2 separate regions of the Homo sapiens genome follow, and region 2 is linked to region 1. Evidence: promoter capture Hi-C in human tissues and cell types (Jung and others, 2019). All regions are on one chromosome and are shown on one strand. The core of a region is centred on a gene start or on the middle of the fragment in contact, and the rest is flanking DNA. Distances in the headings are between cores, read along the strand shown.

Evidence for each region. The method cuts DNA at HindIII sites, captures the fragments that hold promoters and counts their contacts. A contact is called where the count stands out against the background at its distance.
Region 2: a fragment that was not itself captured here is called in contact with the fragment with the promoter of AHCYL1 in region 1 in 1 of the 25 tissues and cell types used here (aorta).

What each region holds. Positions count from the first base shown.
Region 1 is chr1:109,980,775-109,986,273 of GRCh38, reverse strand. AHCYL1 (adenosylhomocysteinase like 1) reads right to left here and starts at 1,509. Exons shown (of 17, transcript NM_006621.7): 1 at 1,102-1,509. The coding sequence starts at 1,221. RefSeq lists silencers at 964-1,033, 1,214-1,283. The HindIII fragment of the contact is 16,487 bases long and covers 1-5,499 here.
Region 2 is chr1:109,834,481-109,839,979 of GRCh38, reverse strand. All of the region lies in intron 4 of LINC01768 (long intergenic non-protein coding RNA 1768), which reads right to left. Among named protein-coding and RNA genes, the nearest start is that of LINC01768, 9.2 kb to the right of the region's middle. The HindIII fragment of the contact is 3,920 bases long and covers 598-4,517 here.

The DNA of each region.
Region 1 (5,499 bases), core at 260-2,759:
TAACTATTCCTGCAGCCCTTGCTTTGTTCAGCCCTGCATCCCATTAAACACTGGATGCAGGCAGAGACAGCTTTGTAAGACTCTGTCTTTATAAAGAAGGGAGACATTTATCTGGGTTCTCACTGGCTTCAGGAAGGTCACCTCTTTGTAAAGGTTCTCTGGTCTACTGCTAACTGGGTGCCAGGTGTATGGAAAATCAAGATGTGGTTGGCAGTAAATGATGAGAAAGCAATAAGGATCCCAATTCCACCACTCGGAGAGCTAGTCAGACTAAAATCTCCAAAGGTTGCCATTTATGAGAGAATTCGAAGGGTGTCCTTTGAGTCAACCTACAGCACAATAGATCAAACTTGTTCTGCCTCAAAAGTACAGTCAAGAGTGAGCAATCTTCCCTTACCACCCACTACTCCAACCCACCCAAGCTCCTTTCTCCAGGGATGCCTAAGTGATCTATTCACATGACTCTAGGATCCACCTGTATCCATGACAGTGTCTGCTGTCACCAACCTCCAAATGTCAATTTCTTACATATTTCGAAGTAATTGGAATGCTGTAGAAAGTGAAAATCATAGATTTTCAGTTTCATGTTACCCTCATCGCTTTCACCTGTATATCAGAGCTAGCTTCACGCATTCTTTTCTCTTGCCTCCCAGCTATCACGCAGTTGTTGGATAAAGCGGCCACTGCTCCCAAAGATTTGATGGAAGTTCTGCCAGATTTACCCACTCACCTGAAGGGAGATTTTCTGTACACCCCATGCCCCCGGACTGGTCACAAGGGTCAGCTGAGTTGGTTCACCCCCTCCCACTCTCGTCTTCGAGGCCCTTCATCCAGGAAAAGTCAGTCGCAAATTTAAGGCCTGGCCCTGTCGGGTTTCAAAACGATCCCGGAGGACTTGGGCCGAGGGACAAAGGAAAGCGAGGTCAGAGGCGGCCTTTCAGCCCGGGAGAGGCCTGGGGCCGCACAGCCGCCACCCCCTACATCACCTCCGCCGTCCCCAGTCACCCCCAGAAGTCCCAAACTAGCCAGAGCCCGGGCTTGCTCGCGTCCCTTCCGCGAGGCCGGAGCCCGAGCCCCCGCCGCCACCCAGAGCCCCCGCACCTTCTTGGGCGCCTTGGTGACGGTGGCCATGAAGGAGTACTTCTCGGCGTCCTCGATCTCCTTGGCCTGCTTCAGCTCCTCCCCGACCCCGGGCAGCGGCATCGCGTCAGGCATCGACATTCCCCGGCCGGCCCGGCCAGCGGCTGACCCGCCGCCCCCGCCTCTTTCCCCCTCTGGCGCCCGCCCGCCTGCCCGCGCGGCGCCCTCCGACACGCGATCGCCCACCCTCCTGCCGGCCCCTGCGTCGAGCTGCGTCGGCTTCTGAGGTGCTGTGGCCCACGCCTTGTCTGTTCGGCAGCCCAAGGCAGCCGGACAGCGACGGCGGCCACAAGAGAACCAGAACAGCAGCTCCGAGCTCCGACCTGCCCGCGCCGCCACCTCCGCTGTACGCAAACACGCACGCAAAGCGAGGGTAGAGGGCGGTGACGCCACGTCAAGTACTGGCAGCTCCCGGGAGGGGGAAGAGGCGGGGAGAAAGGGCACTCTGTCGTGACGTCACCACGCTGGGCTGGGCCACAGAAGCCGTTCCTCTCCCGCTCGAGAGCGAAGTTCCCAGGGTGAGCAGGACCCTTTGTGCCACCAGGTGGCACCATCAGCCCTGGGAGCAGCGCGAGGTTCATGCAACGATGCTGCGGAACGGAGGGTCTTTGGGCTGCGGGGTTCCTGGCAAGGCCTCAGAGGCGCATGAAAGGGGTGTTTGGGAGCAAAGACCAGAGCCCCACACGACACATCCTACAGCGATTCCTAGGAAATGTCCGGGGCTCGAGACAGCCCACTCACTCACTGGCCCAGCCCCAGGCCCTTTGGATTAAAGCTCCTTCCCAAGGGGCCGTGCCTGTCTTTTTGACTTCATAGGGGGCAGAACTGACTCAGAGTAGTCTGGTTTCTGCACAACGCTTTGTGACTTCCTCCACCACCATCTCCGACTGGGCCTTGCCTGTTTACAAAACCCTCATTGGGATAGGGCTGATGGGTATGAGGGTGGAGACCAGGAGAGCTGATGGAGAAGTCCCCAGCCAGAATGGCCTTCCGGTCCTTGCTCCACCAAAGCATTAGACCCTTCCAGCTCTCAGTGGGCATCCAGGACATTCATGGACTGCTCACACCCTTTTACTGGGCCTACTATGTGCAGTGCCTGTGCTGAGGCCCTGCTGGCAAAAGGACATGTGACGCATTTTATGTTTTGCAAGGCTTAGTTCAGCTGGAGAGGCAAAACCTGCTTGTATCCTAATGTCAGCTGAGGTAGCTTGTCCTTTGAGATTCAAATGACATTGGCTCCAATTACCATGTCCTGTGGAAAGTCCATTACTGGGAGGACTTGGATTTTCATGGTCACCTCTGGCTCTAGTTTTTTTGCCTTGTCTGGCATTTTATTCACTATTCTGGTCTTGTGACTGTTTCTGTAGCTCCTGGGGTCAATTCAGCCGCTTCTCCTTTCAACCCCCACCCCATGCTAAACAACTACAAAATAAGGCTGTAACATGTAGTAAAACTTTTAATAAAGGTTTGTGGGTCACAGGGGAGAGATTACATCACACAGCAAACAATTTAAGAACACATTTCTGAAATGTTCTGAAAAGTTATTTTGGCTGTCTTACCACCCGGGGATTTCTCAATGGCCACAAGATCCCACCACGCTCCCTAGCCCATTGCCATCTAATCTAGCTTCCTCCTGTTCCTCCCTTCCCATCTCTGCACCTCATCCTTCCTTCCTTGATAGACTCTGGGAAGCCAGATTCTCCTCTGCTGTGCTGAGCAATTCCAGTCTTCCCAGTGCCCTTTCCCTAAATTCCTCCCCAGGACCACCTTTTTTTTTTTTTTGAGATGACGTCTCGCTCTGTTGCCCAAGCTGGAGTGCTCTCAGCTCACTGCAACCTCCGCCTGCCGGGTTCAAGTGATTCTCCTGCCTCAGCCTCCTGAGTGAGTAGCTGGGACTATAGGCGTGCGCCACCGTGCCCGGCTAATTTTTGTATTTTTAGTAGAGACGGGGTTTCACCATCTTGGCCAGGCTGGTCTCGGATCCTGACCTCGTGATCCACCTGCCTCGGCCTCCCAAAGTGCTGGGATTACAGGCGTGAGCCACCGCGCCTGGCCAGGACCACCTTTTAACATCCAGAAACCTCCCAGGTTTTTAACAGGGCATACCCTTTCAAGAAGGAAGTTTTGGTTTGAAATGGCATTTTCCCCACTGATTTGTGTTCAGGGCTGGGGAGAGTGTGAAATATTCACCTCTAGGGCCCTAAAAGTCTTAGTCAGGGAATCCTGTGTTCCAGCCACCTAGCCTCATGAGACTGTCTGTTTGAAAAGGGCTGTAGAAGTGCCTGGAAGAATGCACCCTTTGCACATCTGCAGACCTTGGTCTTGAACTGTTTGTATTCTTTCATCTGCTCACTTTTTTGAGCACTCACACTTCCCTGTCAGGGGCATCACTGTAGCAGAACGGGAACAGAGATGGAGACCAGAATACCAGGTTCATCCATGAGGGTGCCAGACTGACATCTTTCAGCTAGGGGTCAGGAACCACACCTGGTGCACTAAGGACTCTCTGAACATAAGGCTCACAGTGGCTTTCATCCTTGTGGGTTTGCCCAAACTGTTGGCAGAGCCCAGGGATCAGAGATGCCTGCCCAAAGACTCGAGGCAGAACCCATTGGAACCAGGGATGAAATCTCAAGTCCCTATAGTAGAAAAATGTGTGACTTAAGAAGATCTTTTTTTTTTTTTTTTTTTTTTTTTTAAAGAGAAGCATCAGTGTATCTGTCTTTTGGATTTGATTTTTAGAACTCACTTTGTCTAAACATGTTGTCTCTCAGTCCCCCAGTTCTGCTGTGCATTTAAGCATCCAGACTGTGAGCTTCCTGGAGATTGAAGTTCAGTCTTTACTCCTCCTGGACCAGGTCTGCCCTAGCACCAGGCTCACAGTGTTGTCTGCTATTGCTGCTGCTACAGAGGATGACAGACAGGGCCAGGCCTAGAGCATGCAGTACCTTAGCAGTCTGGGCTAAGAAGGAGATCAGCAGGTCAGACTCCACTCACCTGAGTGGCTGGCCTGAGGGGAGGTTGATGAGCTGATGTAGGAGAGTTCGGGGACTCAGACTGGAAAGGGGAAGGGCAGCACCCCCTACCCTGGTGGAAAGCATTAGGCCTATGTGGTTCAAGTGAGGCCAGGGGCCCGGGACATTCTTGGAAACCAGCCACTGCAGGGGGCATGGGTGGCTGCCATCCCTTCCATCACGTGTGTGCTGGAGAGCAAAGAGCTCACCCAGCCAGGGAGTGTGACAACATAACATCCGTGAGAATCATTGCATCCTGTCTCCCACCCCCAAAACCCATCCTAAGATAGCCTCACATGGCACAGCTAAGGCGATTGCTTCTCATGAATGCCAAGAGATGACTTGTCTTCAGCCTACCCACCCACCTGACTCAGCACCTCTACTGGCAAGCTCACTGCCCTGAACAGCGCATCCACACACAGGTGAGAGACCCCCCACGGGGCAATTGGAGAAGAACAGGGACCCAAAGACAGATGCACCTGCTGTGTGTGGTGGTGGGAAGTCTCCAAGGGCCTGGAGCGAAGACCCTTGCTAGAAAGGAGTGGCCTAAGGGCAGTGGTGAATTGGGAGATGCTGTCACCAGAAATGTAGTGGCATTGGGCTACCACACGTGGGCTTGGTCTTGTTAATCAGATTCACTGTTTGTCCACCCCCAAATTGATGTTCTACATTCAGTCATTTGTTCTTTTATTTATAAAATATATATTGAGTGCCGAAGAAGTGCCAGCAGCAGGGCTAGATGTCAGTCGGGACTACAGAGATAAATAAGCTGAGGTGCTGATCTCTACGTGGGGACAGGTGATGGGGGTGGGGTGCAGTGGAGGGCAAAGGGATGACACAGAGGGAGATGCTGCCAGAGCTGAGTCTTGACAGATAAGCAGCTGGGCAAGGGAGGGAAGATTCTCCAGGCTGAAGAAACAGCCTGAGAATAGGCATGGTGATGGAAACAGCTTGGCATATTACGGGAACTGTAAATATCCCCATGTGGGTGGGGCACAGGGTGCAAAGCAGGGTGAAGTGAGCGCTGAAGCCAGGGCCAGATCCTGCAGGGCGTGTTAAGCCCTGGGTGGGTGGTGGTGATGTCTGCCATGCTGGGGAGCACAGGAGGAGAAGCAAGTGTGGCTAGAGGGGTGGAGGGGGGCTGCTGAGAGGAGTCAGCTTGGGACATGTTGAGTTTGATATGTCTGTGGAGGGCACTGTCCCTGAGTCTCAGGGGAGCCCAGGTTGGCACCTTTTGGAACTGCCCGCTCCCTGCCAGTCAGGCTCCCCACCAGGGGGAGGCTGTGCTCCTCCTGAAGGCCTTTCACCTCCTGTCGGCCAGGTGTTATGTTAGCCCTCTGGAATG
Region 2 (5,499 bases), core at 1,308-3,807, 150 kb after region 1:
TTGAAGAGGGACATTGTCCTTCTAAACATGCCTATGGCAGAAACCAGTCTATGGCAAAGTGCCACTATCTCAGCCCTGGGAGAATCTGACTGGCAGCTCCAAAATATGAAGTTAATTTAAAAAGCGCTTAAGTCCCAAACCATTTTAATCAATAAAATAGTCTCCTTGTTTTGAACTCGGTAAAACATTTAAAATTTTTTCTTAATATTTTCATTGTGTAACCACCCAAAGTTGCTTTGCCTGCTGCCTAGACAGAGCCGATTCATCAAGACAGGTGAATTGCAATAGAGAAAGAGTAATTCACGCAGAGCCAGCTATGTGGGAGACCAGAGTTTTATTATTACTCAAATCAGTCTCCCTGAGCATTTGGGGAGCAGAGTTTTTAAAGATAACTAAGCCAGTGAGCCAGGAGTGCTGATTGGTCAGAGATGAAATCATAGGGAGTCGGACCTGTCTTCTTGCACTGAGTCAGTTCCTGGGTGGGAGTCACAAGATCAGATGAGCCAGTTTATTGATCTTAGTGGTGCCAGCTGATCCATTAAGTGCAGGGTCTGCAAAATATCTCAAGCTCTGATCTTGGAAGCTATTTAGGGAGGCTCAGAATCTTGTAGCCTCCAGCTGCATGACTCCTAAACCATAATTTCTAATCTTGCAGCTAATGTTAGTCCTACAAAGGCAATCTAGTTCCCATGCAAGAAGGAGGCCTGCTTTGGGAAAGGGCTGTTACCATCTTTGTTTAAACTATAAACTAAGTTTTTTCCCAAAGTTAGTTCAGTCTATGCCCAGCCTACAAGGACAGCTTGGAGGTTAGAAACAAGATGGAGTCAGTATACTTAGATCTCTTTCACTGTCTCAGTCATAATATTGCAAAGGCAGTTTCAATCCTTCCCTTTGGGTTTTATAATGCCCTCGTCTTACGATGTAGGCTATGAAGATGGGAAAAGGTTGTAAATCGCTCTGGCTTCTTCCTGCCAACAGAGGACGTAGTGGAAATGGGAGTGCATCCCAAGGTGAGAAGAGTTGAACTGCTTTGTAACTGTCTGAGTGACTCATGCAGGCCTGGCTGGGCTTTCATGGCAAAAACATTAGTACTCTCAACTATAGTTTTACTACAGTGTTTAAGTGAAACAGCCTATTATAAGGTAAATAATGAGTCCTAGGCTGAGGAGTACAATTCCCAATTTTAAAAACAAAGATTTGAAAGCATTAGTTTGAGGACTTCTAGCCCACAAAGAATTTGGAATTTAGTCTAAACTACAGAAAAAAACCTCAAGAATAGCTAACAACAGTGTACTATAGTTTTTCTTTTGAAGCATAAATTTTCTCTCTCCAGTCTTCATTTTTTTAAAAACAAATCATGATAGAACTGATTCGTTTACAAAATAAACTTTAGTCTTACTGTAATTGGCCTAATTATTTGTAAAAAGTACAGCAAGAATAATTATTTTTCATGTAGACTTTTTTAATTGGCTTTGATAGAACTCTGTTCCATGAAGAATCTCAGATAAGACTTTTTAAAAGCCAAGCCCAGCTGTGGGTTTGTACCGACAAATACCTATGAGTTGGGCAAATTCCTCTCCTCTTGAGGTCCCAAGACAACTTGGGGTTCCTGGGCCTGTTAGAAAGTGAAATTCCTTACTTACCACAGGTCAGGAACCTTGTACGGGGACACTGTGCAGACAAGGTATGAGGTCAGATTCCCCAACAGGCTTTAATTGGCTCTATAAGTCAACTTTGATTCTTTAAAGGAAGCATGCCATTCCATTCAAAACCTTGGTAAAATAATCAGTTTCTCCAACTGTGTTCTGTTACAGAAGAAAATAGCTTCTTATTGCACTTACACAATTAACTATACTGCCATAAATTGAGAATATTCACAAATAATTTCCAAATTCTGGAGAAATCAGGTAGAGAGGAACAAATATGCTCCAAATTTTGTTCTCAGGAGTATATCTTATTCATTTGTTAAAAGTTGCAAATACCTCTAAAGAAATAAGTTCCCTTGACTCTGGAAACAAAATGTTTAGCAATGTTTAACACATTAGCTCTCCATGACAGTCCTAGAAGTTTGGTTTTTTTCTCTATTCCAATAGCACAAATTTTAAAGCCCTATTAAAGCTACAATTGACTAGGAATTTTGATTACTTCTATGGCATACAATTTTACATAACAATATTATTATCAATGTACACTAAATTATATCAACATTGTAGAAGTTTCCCATAATTTTGGAATACATACTAATAATATATTTATACAAATACAGTCCAAAGTGAACCAAACACCCTTCACTCTTCTATTTGAAAGTTTTTCCTCTATTCAAATGTCACAATCTCCAGAGTTATTTATCAGAATCCTGCATTTAAGAGCACCTGTTACATTTTAAAACTGATTATAAAACCATCTTTTAAAGAGGACCAAAACGAGACAGCAATTATCTGTGGATGACAAAAACATTTTAGGGCAGCCACAGTTAAAGACACAATTGACAAGGAAATTTACCTTTGTAGCACACAGTCTGTTAACATAATAATTATAATTATTACAGATAACATAGACTAAGTCATATTAGAATTATAGGAGTTTTACATTACTTCAGAACATATACCAATAACACATTTACACAAATAGAGACCAAAGAAAGCCAAACACCATTTCATATTTGACAATGTCAGGCCTCTGAGCCCAAGCTAAGCCATCATATGCCCTGTGACCTGCACGTATACATCCAGATGGCCTGAAGCAACTGAAGATCCACAAAAGAAGTGAAAATAGCCTTAACTGATGACATTCCACCATTGTGATTTGTTTCTGCCCCACCCTAAGTGATCAACGTACTTTGTAATTTCCCCCACCTTAGGAAGGTTCTTTGTAATTCTCCCCACCCTTGAGAACTTACTTTGTGAGATCCACCCCCTGCCCGAAAAACATTGCTCCTAACTCCACCGCCTATCCCAAAACCTATAAGAACTAACGATAATCCCACCACCCTTCGCTGACTCTCTTTTCAGACTCAGACCGCCTGCGCCCAGGTGAAATAAACAGCCTTGTTGCTCACACAAAGCCTGTTTGGTGGTCTGTTCACATGGACGCATGAGACAGACAATGCTTCCTGTGTGATTTTTGTACCAAATAAGCCAAATGTCATTTTTGGACTTTAAAGAACCTAATATCTAAAATATTAGGTTAGAAAGAGACAGAATTTATAATTTGATATTGGAAAGCTTGTCAAATATCAAAGGTTTAAAACACAGGATATCACAAAATAGATCCCAGATCACCGTAAATCATTCATTTGGCCGAATTGATAACTCCAAAACAATTTTTAAAAAAGAAAAACCTTCACTCTGATAGAGAAGACTTAGCTTTCCAAACAAGACCCAATGAAGATAGCATGAGGCCAACTCAATCTGTCTCTTATCTCTCTCCTCTTTTTTTTCCCTGCCATTTACCCAAAGGAGAAAACAAAACCCTTTCATTATCTTTTAACATTACATAAAAATCATCTTCAAAAGAGAAAACCAAATTTCTTGTTTGCATTAGTGCATCTTTTAACGTTAAAGCTAGTTTTTTAGATAAAATTTTATATCTCTATCCAGTTTTAATTAGTTTCACCATAAGGCAAGATTTTCATAAACTTTTTAGAACCCTTTACAATTTTCCATCAAACAGCAGATCAATTTTCTAAGAAAACCCTGTTATTCGTACACATGGGCCCAGATTCTGGCCCCACATCAGTATGATTTTAATGTTTTAACCTATGGGGAAAAGCTAAATAATTTCTTTTAAATCTTAGCCAACTTGTTTATACCCACAGAAGTTTTACAAGATCAACCCTTTTCAAACCCTTTTCACTTTGCTTAAACCTTCAGTTTTGTTCCATTACTCTTTTAGGTTAAGACAATCTTTAAAACCCTCTGAACTAGACAAAATTACATTCCCTTTAACAAAAGCCATATTCCCATGCCTTCTTATAATCTTTTACCTAAAACACATTCCCTACACACCTTGTATGTAAAACTGTTTCTCCAGCGGTCTCGACTACATGTTGCAATGTTAACTCTTAGCACCTTTTATTTTTAGTGAAAAACCTGACAAGTAAGCGATTTTAATTATGTACTAGGGGTGGAGCCTAGGACATCAGACAGAAATGAAGATAAGGTCTGACTCCTTTTAGCATAGCTAGCGGACATGGCTCTCCCCATGTCCGCAGGAATTATCTATAATCTAATGCTCCAAAGTAGGTAAATCGAACAATTTTCAAAAGTCAAAGAAACAGTTTGAACTTAAAATATTTAGCAAGTCTGATACCTGATCTTAATTTAGACCAAATGTCTACATTTTCAAGACATTTTATTTTACCAATAATCTTTAAAACTGTCTTTATTTCCAAAAGATTACTAAAATGACGAGAAAAAAAGGCATTAAAATTTCTATTTTTCTGACAAAATATTTGATTTAAGCGCTTATTTTTCTAAGCCAATTAATCAGAGCTCTTTTATATCTAAACATACAACACATATAAATATACAGAGAGAAGATTAGGCACTTGTAAGGTTTTTCATTTGCCAGTTTCTTAATTGGATTACTGGCTTCGGGGTGGAGCCCTTGGAGGAACAGGGCCTGGAAAGCATGCATTTCTAAGGCCAAATAAGCAGCAAATAAGCAGCTGAAGGCAGAGACACATCCCCAAAATTAAGGGTGCCATTTTATACTGATCCTGGATCCCAAAAGGAGGGAAATACTACTGGAGAGGACAGTGCAGTGCTTCTACCCTGCATTTCATTGCAAAGCAACCCAAAGCCAATCAGCCCATTTTGCAATCAGCCCATCCCTCATGAGAGTCTCATCTCCCAGTGGGGGGTGGGGATGTCTCCTTATCTTCCAGGTGGCCAAGAGCATGCTTCTCTGATCCAAGTGTGCAAAGAGTCAAGTACCCCTCCCTAACTACTATTAGCCATCCCTTAGAGTATATTTCCTACCTAGTTATTACACACCAAAGCTCTCTCATAATGCAAAGTAATTTCTGATGCCCCCCAAACTCAAAACCGTCAGACAACACAATGCAAAACAGAACAAGCCTTTGATTTTGAGAGGGATCTATCCGCTATTAATTCCTGGGGTTTCATGATGAAAACAGAGTGTTTTGGGTTTTTTTCCCCAAAGCGGGGTCTGCAGCACCTCCTCTGTTTTTCCCAAGGAGTCCCAAGCTACCAGAAGTTATCTTAGGGGCTCTGATGTGTGTATTAAGAGTGGCAAGACAAAAAAATGGAGAAAAATAGTTCAGTCGACTTAGAAGGAAAAACCTTTTTCCAGAAAAACAAGTTCCAAGAAGAGAAAAACAATGGCCTTTTAAATACATCTATAGCTTGTTTATCCACTTTTAATTAACCTAACTTTTAACCATAGTGCTCTTTAAAAAAGAAATCTTTTCAAATCTCTTATTACCTGACTTTAGCCATGCCAAGTGGCCAATACTTCTAGCTTCTGAACTTTACC